Regions from separate parts of the Homo sapiens genome. Here regions 2 and 3 are each linked to region 1. The links are contacts of gene promoters, found by promoter capture Hi-C in blood cells and fetal thymus (Javierre and others, 2016). All regions are on one chromosome and are shown on one strand. Each heading gives the region's core, a stretch centred on a gene start or on the middle of the fragment in contact. The rest is flanking DNA. Distances are from core to core; before and after follow the strand shown.

Evidence for each region. Contacts are between HindIII fragments. The CHiCAGO score rates a contact against its expected background, and 5 or more counts as called.
Region 2: a fragment that was not itself captured here is called in contact with the fragment with the promoter of SSR3 in region 1 in 1 of 17 cell types (non-activated CD4 T cells); the score reaches 5.4 in non-activated CD4 T cells.
Region 3: a contact is called between a fragment that was not itself captured here and the fragment with the promoter of SSR3 in region 1, in 13 of 17 cell types (neutrophils, monocytes, naive CD4 T cells and 10 more). The highest score is 11.5, in neutrophils.

What each region holds. Positions count from the first base shown.
Region 1 is chr3:156,553,308-156,557,127 of GRCh38, forward strand. SSR3 (signal sequence receptor subunit 3) reads right to left here and starts at 1,810. Exons shown (of 5, transcript NM_007107.5): 1 at 1,650-1,810; 2 at 348-474. The coding sequence starts at 1,782. RefSeq lists an enhancer at 1,669-1,748. The HindIII fragment of the contact is 5,682 bases long and covers 652-3,820 here.
Region 2 is chr3:156,781,725-156,785,544 of GRCh38, forward strand. All of the region lies in intron 1 of LINC00886 (long intergenic non-protein coding RNA 886), which reads right to left. Among named protein-coding and RNA genes, the nearest start is that of LINC00886, 33 kb to the right of the region's middle. The HindIII fragment of the contact is 644 bases long and covers 1,701-2,344 here.
Region 3 is chr3:156,703,360-156,707,179 of GRCh38, forward strand. TIPARP (TCDD inducible poly(ADP-ribose) polymerase) reads left to right here. Exons shown (of 6, transcript NM_015508.5): 5 at 65-343; 6 at 1,325-3,411. The coding sequence ends at 1,772. Among named protein-coding and RNA genes, the nearest start is that of TIPARP-AS1, 30 kb to the left of the region's middle. The HindIII fragment of the contact is 2,491 bases long and covers 853-3,343 here.

The DNA of each region.
Region 1 (3,820 bases), core at 560-3,059:
TGAAGAGCCCAGAACAATTCTCTCCATAAGGAATTACATTTAGCTTCTGAAATGTTAACTTACTTGGTGGGTTTGTTTCTCTGATGAACCTCATATTAAGGCCTGTGTTTAAGTGTTCTAATTCCACCCTCAAAATCTGCTTCTGTAGCCGTGTCAGAATGATCATTGTCTCTACTTCAGTTAGTTAATAATTCTTCCTAGCATCAATGTTCCTTTCCCCCAAAATGTTTATTAATATATATATCTCAAATTAATGCTTATTAAAACCAACACACACAAATGATCTTTAAGAAGACATATAAAAATATAACATGTAGTACGTACTTTCACTTGAAAAACATACTTACTTGTGCTTGAGAACAAATTTCACATTCTTGTATGCAAAGGCTACCAAATATGTGCTTACTAGGGTCATCACACTATACAAAACAGCAGACTGAATAAGATCCATATGCCATATTCGCCAGTATAACCCTGAATTAAAATAAAAGGGGGAAGGGTACAAAAAGAAGCAAAACATTACAACCCCGCAACAAAAGCCTGCGAAATTAATTATAGCTAAGCCTGGTAAAATACCAGGTTATTAGTTATGCAATCCAATAGTATCTGAGGATCTTCAGAAGCGAGATAACCAGTAACAGTATAGTCTCAAGCTTTCCAGTTCAGAACATTTGAAAAACATCACCTTCCTATTACTAGTCCAGATGAGATTTCAACTTCTAAAATGAGAACAAACTCTGGCTCAACGTAATCACAAGTCAGACTTCAAATTTCATTCATCAGGGTACTAGCATGCGAAACACAGGCCATTCCAAAATGCCACGTGCAGCCCCAAACCATAGTTTCCTTGCTGACGTGGCTGTTATCAGAACTCCAAGCAGTGCTATGTCCAATTAGTGAGCCATCATATGGCTTCACATCACGTTAATGGCACGCTGGGTTGTATAAGGACAAAAGAGAAAAATACATTTAGTTTTAAATGCCCAACAACAGTGCAGCAAAAGACAGGAGTTCTGGAAACTTGAGCTCTACTAAAAACGACCTTGTCCAAGTCTGCAGTTTCCCAACCAAGTGAGAATTCTAGAATTGGTCCAGTAGGATTATTAAAAAGTATAAATAAGGTAGATCCCTAACCCCTGGCACTTCAACCTCTCTCTTTTTGCAAAAACCAGGAAAATTATGCAATGGTGTGAAGTAGCTCACGTAAAGATGCACTTATAATTCAGTGGGTCACTTCATGGGTTTCTCACCTAACTAATTTATGCAAAATAAGTAATAAGTTTAAAATTTCGTAACGGCAAGCAACAGTTGTATAGAAAAGGGCAGAGGCAGTATGCTTGAGTTTGTCTGTTTAAATAGAGATTCGGGGCCGCCACCCCAGAACTAGTTAACCACCTTCTCCTGGGGTGGAGCTCGGGAACGTGCGTACTTTTAACAAGTGACCTCCCCGAGTGCTGCACAGGACAATCCCAAGCGACAACACTGTGCCCAAAGAAGAGGCTCCGTGCCTCCCCGAGCTCAGGGGAGCTGGAGAGATTGCCGACCCCCGGCCGGCACCCACGCCTTCCCTGCTCGCCGGGTCCTGCCACGTCCCCGCCCAGCCCGACTAGCCGGCGGCCTGCCTAACCCGCCTCGCTCCCAGCACTCACAGATGGGGATGGCAGACACGATGAACGCGTTTCCGAAGAAGAGCGCGGAGGACTTGGCCGAGAGATTGCGGCTGAAATCCTGCAGGAGCAGGTCCTCCTCAGACTGCTGTTTGGAGCTGCCTTTAGGAGCCATGGCGGAGCTGCAGGCGAGAACAGGGAACGTAGAGCCGGCCGCCAAGGCGGGCAAAGGCCCTTGACTCCGCCCCTGCGGCCGCCGTATCCGCTAACGACCCGTCAGCGCGGCGCGCGGAGGCGGGACCCGGTTTGGCGAAGAGCAAGCGTCCCCAGGATTGGCCAGCTTGGCGCCACTAGATAGGCTTCCGGGCGTGATTGGGCGAGCGGGCCAGACTTCCGGATTCCTGACAAGCCACGTGACCCACCCACCTGGAGGAGAGAGAAGGGATTTGTAGTTTAGTCGGTGCTTTAAAAAAAATTAACAAAACTTTATTGATATTCCACTTCAGAGCTGCTGACAGACTCACGAGTTCTCAGTTCTTCAGAATTCCAAAATTAAAAGCTCTTCTGGCCCCACGCCATTAGTGCCCTCTGTGCGTACCCAGGACTGAGTACGTTGAAGAAGAAAGAAGAGAAAGGTATAGCTAACTCATGTAAAATCCCTTCTCCTTTACACATCCTTTATTTCATTAAATACCTTGAAGAATCTTATGACGTGCGCATCATTACCGCCATTGCAGCTGAAGAGCCTGAGGGTCGTAGACCTGCGGTGTGGGTCTCCAAGGCGTGGGCTCTTTTCACTAAACAATAGGCCACCTCTGTAGGAAGAAGAAAATGGGACTCTTGCTTTTAAGAAACTCATGATCTCATTGATGAAGGCAATATTTAATATATGTCTGATACAAGTTACTACTATTTTATTTTATTTCAACTAGACCTATAGAGTTTTGTGGCTTCCAAAGCCATGCTAAATAAAACATAATACTAAGAACAGGTTGGCTAGGCAAGACTCCCTCTCTGAAGCTCAGAAGGATTAAGTATGTCTATTAAAACAGCTAGATTCCATTTTTAACTCAACACATTATCATTTTTTCTTCAAAAAAAAATTCAACCACATCACTCCCAGCAAATGCTACTTTTGATTACTGAGAACACTCTAGTGCATTAGGCACAATTTCCTCAACCTCCAGCCTCCTTATTAACCGTTTGGTAGATATCTTTCTTCCTCACAGTATCCAAATTGTAATCTACCTCCACAGCTTCCTATTACTAGTCCTAATTGGGCTTTTGTCTTCAATCTTTTCCAGTCTATTCTCTATACAGGTACCAGAGTGAGTTTTCCTGAAATATAAATCCTTCCATTATCTACCGCAAGTGTTCCTTAATGCCAGAAGTTTTCATTAATTCACCACAAAATGAAAAAGAAAAAAAGACCATCTAGTGAATTTTTCAGAAAATCAAAAGTATTCATTTAAAAATATCTGGGTTTATGTCTTTTTTGATGTTAAAAATGCTCTTTATTTTATTACATGGTAGTGATAGAAGAAGAAATTATTATTTTCTCTTACACATACTCCTCCCCCAGTTTTTCCTATCTCACTAAGTTGCATTCTTTTAAACTCATTTGTTGTTCTGGTTAAAATAGTGGGTTTCAACACTAATTATTTTTTTCCTTCTCCATCTATGACCAATTCATAAATAAAACTTTTTGGATCTGTCTCTATAACTAGATTTTCTTCTGCCTATTTATAAACAAACTAAGGATATAAAAAGAAGATAAAAGATAAAAATCAGAGGCTGGGTGCGGTGGCTTATGCCTGTAATCCCAGCACTTTGGGAGACCAAGGTGGGTGGATCACAAGGTCAAGAGACCGAGACCATCCTGGCCAACATGGTGAAACCTCGCTTTTACTAAAAATACAAAAATTAGCCAGGCATGGTGGCGCACGCCTGTAGTCCCCAGCTACTCAGGAGGCTGAGGCAGGAGAATCACTTAAACCCGGGAGGCAGAGGTTGCAGTGAGTCAAGATCGCGCCACTACACTCCAACTCCAGCCTGGCAACAGAGCAAGACTCCATCAAAAAAAAAAAAAAAAAAAAATCAGAAAACTAAAAGATCCAAAGAGACAACAATCATCTTTCTTTTAAAAGAAGAAAAGAAGAAATGATAAGGATGAGATTTAAAAAAATTATGCCTGAGAAAAATATTTTAACAAT
Region 2 (3,820 bases), core at 773-3,272, 230 kb after region 1:
AGAAAAGTTACAAAAGGAAGCAAAATAAGGAAGATAAGAGAATGGCTGAGTCACAGTAATTGTACAGTCACTAGATAGATAAACAAACCTGAGGTGATGTCCAGATGACCAGAGCTCTTGTCATACTGTGAGAGCTTCAGAACTATTATTATACCATGTTCTAGTTCTCTGTGAGACCGGGCCACCTACAAGAGTCTTCTTGTAGCTCCATAGTTTTCCATGTGTTTTTCTAACAATTTCTGTCTCCTCAAGTAACCTAAGTATGCTCTGTACCTTGCCAAGTAAAAGAGCCTAAGTAACACGGTATCTTTGTCAAGTCCACACCCTAAACTGTTGGAGTGCCTGCATATTGCATGGGAGTAAGCACGCATACAGTGAGCCAGCATGCAGTAAGCCTTCAGTAAAGTTTGCTGAATAAAGCTGAGGGGTGTGTGATTACTTTGGGAATGACTGAGTCCATGTTAGGCTGGCAAAGAGTATTTCTATATTTGGATCAAGGTGTACCCAAAGTTATCTGAAAACTTGCGGGCTGGAGCAAAAGTGAAGCTTTGTGAGTAAGTGAAGGAAGAAATAGTTTAAGTGCAACATTACCAAGAAGGGCCTCAACTCAAAATATTTTTGCCTCCAACTTGCCATACTGCCTAAAATATAGACACGATATTAACTCCTTCAATGGAAGGCACTGGCTATCTAAGTGCTCACTTATAAAGTATTTATGTTCAGAGACAGGAGTAACACGTAAAACTTATCATATTTCATATCTTAGTGTGCATTCATTCAGCAAACGCATTTCTAGCAGATTTTTATCCTACGGACTGAGGAAATATGACTCTTGATGGTGTCAGGTCATGGAGTGTTGGAAGGTGGTACTTTTGGAGCATGGAGCACTGCTGAAAGAAATTAGGATGACCTAATTCTTGTGTGGAACAATATACATTCTGGTTACTCCTAGTGAAGGAAGAGGGAAGGAAACGGTAGGGATGTGAAATTCTTCCAGGCCTCATTCTAGATGACCCCAATTACCACATACAATACAAAAAGGGTAACAAGGATGATATGTGTTATATGACAAAGATTCTAGGTTTTGAAATAAGAAGATCTGAGCTTTATCCTCTACTGCTGTTTAATATATATGAAACTTAGGATTTCTGGGCTTCAGTTTCTTCATTTATAAAATGGGAGATAACAATATATCATTCTTCAGAGGGAGGTGGTAGAAACCATCTGAGAGAAATGGTGGTCAAATGATTTCAGTAATTGCAAACTGCATGTGTTGCAGTTCAGCCTGGAAGGAGCAGGGATATAAGAGTGACCTTAGTTGAGAGTAGGCCCTCCCTGCTGCTAAGGCTTCCTACCTCTCCTAGACCCAGGAAGAAGTACATGGATTCACTTTTCTCCCACCTCACATGACTATGGTGGTTACTCATCAAATCAAAGTAAATCTAGAGGTTTTTGCTGAGGAAAAGTTATGCTTTCTTTCCTGATAGAAAAGAGCACTGGCATTAAAGGCACTTGAGACATTTTTTTCCCCTCATCCTTTTCTCATCCTTTCTTTTCTAAATCTCTTCCAACAGATAGGTATAGTAGTTACAAAGCTTTAGTTGCAAATTACAGAAAACCTGAATCAAGCTGGTTTTAAGTAATATTGGAAAGTTAATGGTTTATATTACTAAATGGTCCAGTGATACATTTTCAGGTAAAGCTTGATCCAGCAGCAAAATGATGGCATCTAGGGCCTGGTTTCTTCCAATTGTTTCTCTGTTCTGTTCTTCATAGTAATTACTTTATTTTAATGCTGCTACTCATCATGATCCTAAGATAACTGCCAATTGATTCAGTGCTCTTGTCTATCAGGAAAGAAAGCATAACTTCTTCCCAGCAAAAACCTCTAGATTTACTTTGATTGGATGAACTTAGGTTACACATTCCCTTGGAACAAATCTCTAGCTAGAGGAGATAATATATTGGAGAGTTTAACCTAAGGCACATTAGCCATTCTGGGGCTGAAGGTGGATTCAGTTGTCCTAAAACCCCATGGATCGCAAAACAGTTTATGGGCTGATAAAGTGAATGGGGAGAAATGGATACTGAGGAGGTGCCACTAACAAAGACCACTATTACAGGTTAGAAGAAGATGCCATCCTTATATGTAAAGCTGCAGTGTCCAAATGCTTACAGACTTTGTCATTTGAAAACTAGAGCACATATTGTTTAAACCAAATTTGGTGTGTCTACTGTAACAGAAATTGACTTTCATCAATACGCATGAAAAGCAATCATTAACCTTTGGATTTTGTGATTTTATAAAGCATAGAAATCTATACTTCTGTGCTCTCAGGAGGGAAGCTTTTTTGTTTATACATTTTGGCCATTTTCAACATGCTCTAAATTGAAATGGAGAATGTACTTTTTTTTTTCTTCTAGTGTAACATTGAATAAGTAACAGCACAATGCAGGAAGTCAGTCTAGCCACAGCAAATCTGTACTTGTTTTTGTGAGAGGATGGGAAGAATGAATATTTGCCCTGTGGCATCAATTTCCTGTTTAATGTTCTCCAAGAGGCATTTGGAAAATGCCCAGCAACACGGATGTACGTAAATGCCACACATAACTTGTTTTCGTGAGTGGAAAGAGGAGCCTATAAAATTATGACAAGTCTGGTTTACCCTCACCTCCTGAGAGTTGGTGAGTCACTCTACCTTTAACTTAATGATTTGGAGGATGGATTATTCCAGAGTTTGGCACTGGAAGAACAAGCAGTATAGGAATAGCATGGCTTTTGGCTTCTTAGCCCAAGTTCTTATTCATTTAAGGCTACTTTTATCCTAAAGTTTGCCATATTCCTGCTGGAAATTGCCAATAAGAAATGTATACGTGGCCGGGCGCGGTGGCTCACGCCTGTAATCCCAGCACTTCAGGAGGCCGAGGCGGGCGGATCACCCGGTCGGGAGATTGAGACCATCCTAGCTAACTCGGTGAAACCCCACCTCTACTAAAAATACAAAAAATTAGCCGGGCGTGGTGGCGGGAACCTGTAATCTCAGCTACTTCGGAGGCTGAGGCAGGAAAATGGCGTGAACCCGAGAGGCGGAGCTTGCAGTGAGCCGAGATCGCGCCACTCTACTCCAGCCTGGGCGACAGAGCGAGACTCCGTCTCAAAAAAACAAAAACAGAAAAGAAATGTATACGTACCAGGACAGCCTTTATAAAGCAAGCAAAGAAACAAAATCCCTTCCAAAACAGAACCTATCTTTAAGATTTGCAGACACAAATTTGTTTTCAAACCACAGAAAAACATATGTACATGCCACATAATATCTCTTAAGGCATGGGCAGATGTGCTCTTACCCCAGACCACTCACATACCAGTTTTGGACATCTTATTTAAAAGGTCATGATGTGGTTGAAGAATCAAAACCTATTTTTGTTCAACAACTAATCTCTAGGGTTACTATAGAATTTAAAACCTTGACTCCGAAAATTCAGATATAAAGAATCTGTCCTCTAACTTCCCTTTTGAGCTACCTCCTGACATAAAGATGAGAATAGTTATGATCTATTAAGCACCTAGTCTGAACAAGAAATATCTTTCTATATGTTAATGCTAATCCTTAAAATACCTCACAATTTGTTCCATATCCCCTCATCTTATAGATGAGGAAATTGGGACTTAAAGAACATAAGTAACAGTCTAAGGTCACTCTGGTAGCTAGTGGAGCTGCATTCAAGTCTAGATCTGTCTGGCCATAAAGCCCAAGCTCTTTTCTCAAATTTAGAAATTGTCAATCTAGAATTCCTAAATGGGCCTCAGAATATTCTC
Region 3 (3,820 bases), core at 848-3,347, 150 kb after region 1:
CTATAATGTGAGGTGTACTTATTTCTTAATGTTTTACATTGATGTTTCTTCCTCTCCATTTTAGGACACTTGGTGGGGTTCCCACACAAGCTCCTCCACCTCTTGAAGCAACTTCATCATCACAAATTATCTGCCCAGATGGGGTCACTTCAGCAAACTTTTACCCTGAAACTTGGGTTTATATGCATCCATCTCAGGACTTCATCCAAGTCCCTGTTTCTGCAGAGGATAAAAGTTATCGGATCATTTACAATCTTTTTCATAAGACTGTGCCTGAGTTTAAATACAGAATTTTGCAGATATTGAGAGTCCAAAACCAGTTTCTTTGGGAGAAATATAAAAGGTGAGTCAGATGTATGAAAAGTTCAAGACGGCCGGGCGCAGTGGCTCAAGCCTGTAATCCCAGCACTTTGGGAGGCCGAGGCGGGCAGATTACGAGGTCAGGAGATCGAGACCATCCTAGCTAACACGGTGAAACCCCGTCTCTACTAAAAATAGAAAAAATTAGCTGGGCGTGGTGGCGGGCACCTGTAGTCCCAGCTACTCGGGAGGCTGAGGCAGGAGAATGGTGTGAACCTGGGAGGCGGAGCTTGCAGTGAGCCGAGATTGCGCCACTGCACTCCAGCCTGGGCGACAGAGCCAGACTCCGTCTCAAAAAAAAAAAAAAAAAAGTTCAAGAATCAAGAGAGCTTTATTGTAGCCAGTGTCAAATGAGGAACATAATAGTAAACATTTGCACAGAATTTATGTTCATATTTTCTGTGTATTGACTGACATATAATCCTCATAACAGACATAAGTAGGATTATTACAATTTATATCCTACAGAGAAGAAGAAACTGAGTCACAGAAAGCTTACTTTGCTGCAGGTCATGCGGCTATTATGATATGGTGCTGGAATTTGAACCCAGGCCGTCTGGCACCAGAGGCCTTGCTCTTAATCCCTTTACTGTGGTGCCTCTCAAGTCAACAAACTAATGAAGGACAAATGGAGGGAATACATTTAGATTTCAGGAATCTCAGAATCTAAGAGACCCTCAGATTGGAGGAATTAGGCAAGGAGGGCATCCTGAGGAAAAACATAGGAGAACTCTTAATAGATTTAAGATGAAAGAGAAAGCAAGTGAATGATTGGTGGAGAAAGAAGGAAAAGGCCTTTTCTACAGTGGAAAGATAAGTTTCAACTTTTAATAGGATCTTTGATGGCATTTTGCCCTTGATAACTCCTCATTAAAACCATAAAGAGAAGTTTATGACTACATCATGCCTGTTAAATTGACCTGTATTTCATCCTTCTGAATTCTCTGTCTGTTCTTTCCATTAGGAAAAAGGAATATATGAACAGGAAAATGTTTGGCCGTGACAGGATAATAAATGAGAGACATTTATTTCATGGAACATCCCAGGATGTGGTAGATGGAATCTGCAAACACAACTTTGACCCTCGAGTCTGTGGAAAGCATGCTACAATGTTTGGACAAGGCAGTTATTTTGCAAAGAAGGCAAGCTACTCTCATAACTTTTCTAAGAAGTCCTCCAAAGGAGTCCACTTCATGTTTCTGGCCAAAGTGCTGACGGGCAGATACACAATGGGCAGTCATGGCATGAGAAGGCCCCCGCCAGTCAATCCTGGCAGTGTCACCAGTGACCTTTATGACTCTTGTGTGGATAATTTCTTTGAGCCTCAGATTTTTGTCATTTTTAATGATGACCAGAGTTACCCTTATTTTGTTATCCAATATGAAGAAGTCAGTAACACTGTTTCCATTTGAAAAATCTTGGTACTGCTAAATTATTTGATATGAACTCAATCCAGCATTTGTAGCAGGTTTTGAATGGGTGGGACTGGGTGGGGAACAGCATTGGACATTAATAGGGCACTTTTCAGACCCATTTTTTAAAGTGCTAGAAAATGCTTTTTTTAAAAAAAAAATACAAGTTTTAAAATGACCACTTACTCTTTAATTATTTACTAATTGCTAGTGTACTCAGTGTGGAAAAGACTACAGATTACACACTCTTTTCATTCACACTTGTACATATAGACAGCAATGTTATTAGGAGCATTAAATTAAAAAACTGAACAGCCTAATTTAAATGTGGCTTGGGCCTGGTAGAAGTTTGACCAAATGGAATGGAGGCTGTGAGCAATGTGAGGATTCTATTTATTTATTTACGTTTGATAAAACTTACTGGAACTAGTACTACCATGCGTATTCCCTGTCCAAAGCATCACTGCTTTGGTATAGTATAAGTTCATGAAATTCTGGTGGGTAGAAAGAAATTTTTATTTCTATCAGCAGTACTAAAATGTATCAGCCAACCAGAGAACATCAGTGACTTTAACTTCTGCAGAGTTTGCCCCAGAATTCAGAGTTCTATTTAGAGGAAGTTAAAACAACAACAAAAAACAACCATTTGAAAAATTTTTGTCACCAGCAAAACTTTTCACTAATTAGTGATATGAAATGTGATTTTTGTGTTGTTAAACTTCAGCTTTGGAAAACTCAGTCTCTTTCATTATCATCCATTCCAATTTGAAGGAGTTGGGCAGCTAATTTGGTTAAAGGCAGTCTTGAGGGTTAGAAGTATTACTTCCTTTTCGGGTTCCAGACCTAGCTTGTGACTGAAAGTTTTAGAAAAAGGAAGTACATCTATAGCCAAATTGATAAGGTTATTACTGTGTTTTGCACAAAGTATATTAGCAAAAGTATTTGCTGGAATTATTGGTAGATGGCAGTCCCACTCCTACACCTGCTTTGTCAGATACAGCTGGGTTCCCTGGCTGACTCTGTACCTTACTTACACTACTTACTTAATAGAAACACAAACTTGGAAATTGTGCCAGTGGTCCAGCTGGAGCACAACGTTTGGTGAATATGCTGTTTCCTCAGTTCAGAGAGGTAGCAACTAGGTAAACTCCTTATAAAAAGCAAATACCTGGATTTACAAAAGTGAAAGTAGTTGTTCACAAAAGAATTCGCCATGGAATTCTTTCAGTTACCAAGCTCTCCTGGTAATGTTTGTGGTTATATCATTTACACAAAACTTTTCAGGAACTTCTGTGTTGTTTAAGCAAGATGTATCTGTACTGATGTCTCAGTGAATCAGTCTGTTTATTAAGCACTTATCAGGGCTTCCACACACTTATTTATTTTGCCCTAGTTAATCCTGTTGTTTGCTGCCATTGGCATGAAATGGCCAACTGTGGCTGTTACAGTTCTTTCATTCAATTATAACTTGTAAACCAGTGACTCCTAATCTTTTTCAAGTTAAGACACCTTACCATTGCTTATTTGGTTTTATGAGACTTGTTCCTTTTTTTCTCCCTAAGGAAAAAGAAAGCTTTATGACATATTTATTTTTTTAATAAAACTAAGCAAAAATAAAACTTATGGTAATTCTTTAAAATTTGTTGTTGTTTTGGTTCCATTTAAGATCACTGGATTAATACATAGTTGGTGATCTGTAAATGTTGATTGGTTGGTTAAATGTATGATTGAGTGACTGAATGAACAGACCTAACCAGAACTTGCTGCTTAAACTTTTCTGCAGTGTGAATCTACAGAAAGTACATTATCTAGCAGCCCATTATCATTTACAAGAGAAGAATCAATATTTTATTTTGCAGGTAATACTTGGAGGAAATGGAAAAGTTTTTTTTTTTTTTTTTTTTGAGGCGGAGTCTTGCTTTGTCGCCAGGCTGGAGTGCAGTGGTGCGATCTTGGCTCACTGCAACCTCCACCTCCCAGGTTCAGGCGATTCTCCTGCCTCAGCCTCCTGAGTAGCTGGGATTAAGGCAACCGCCTCTATGCCCGGC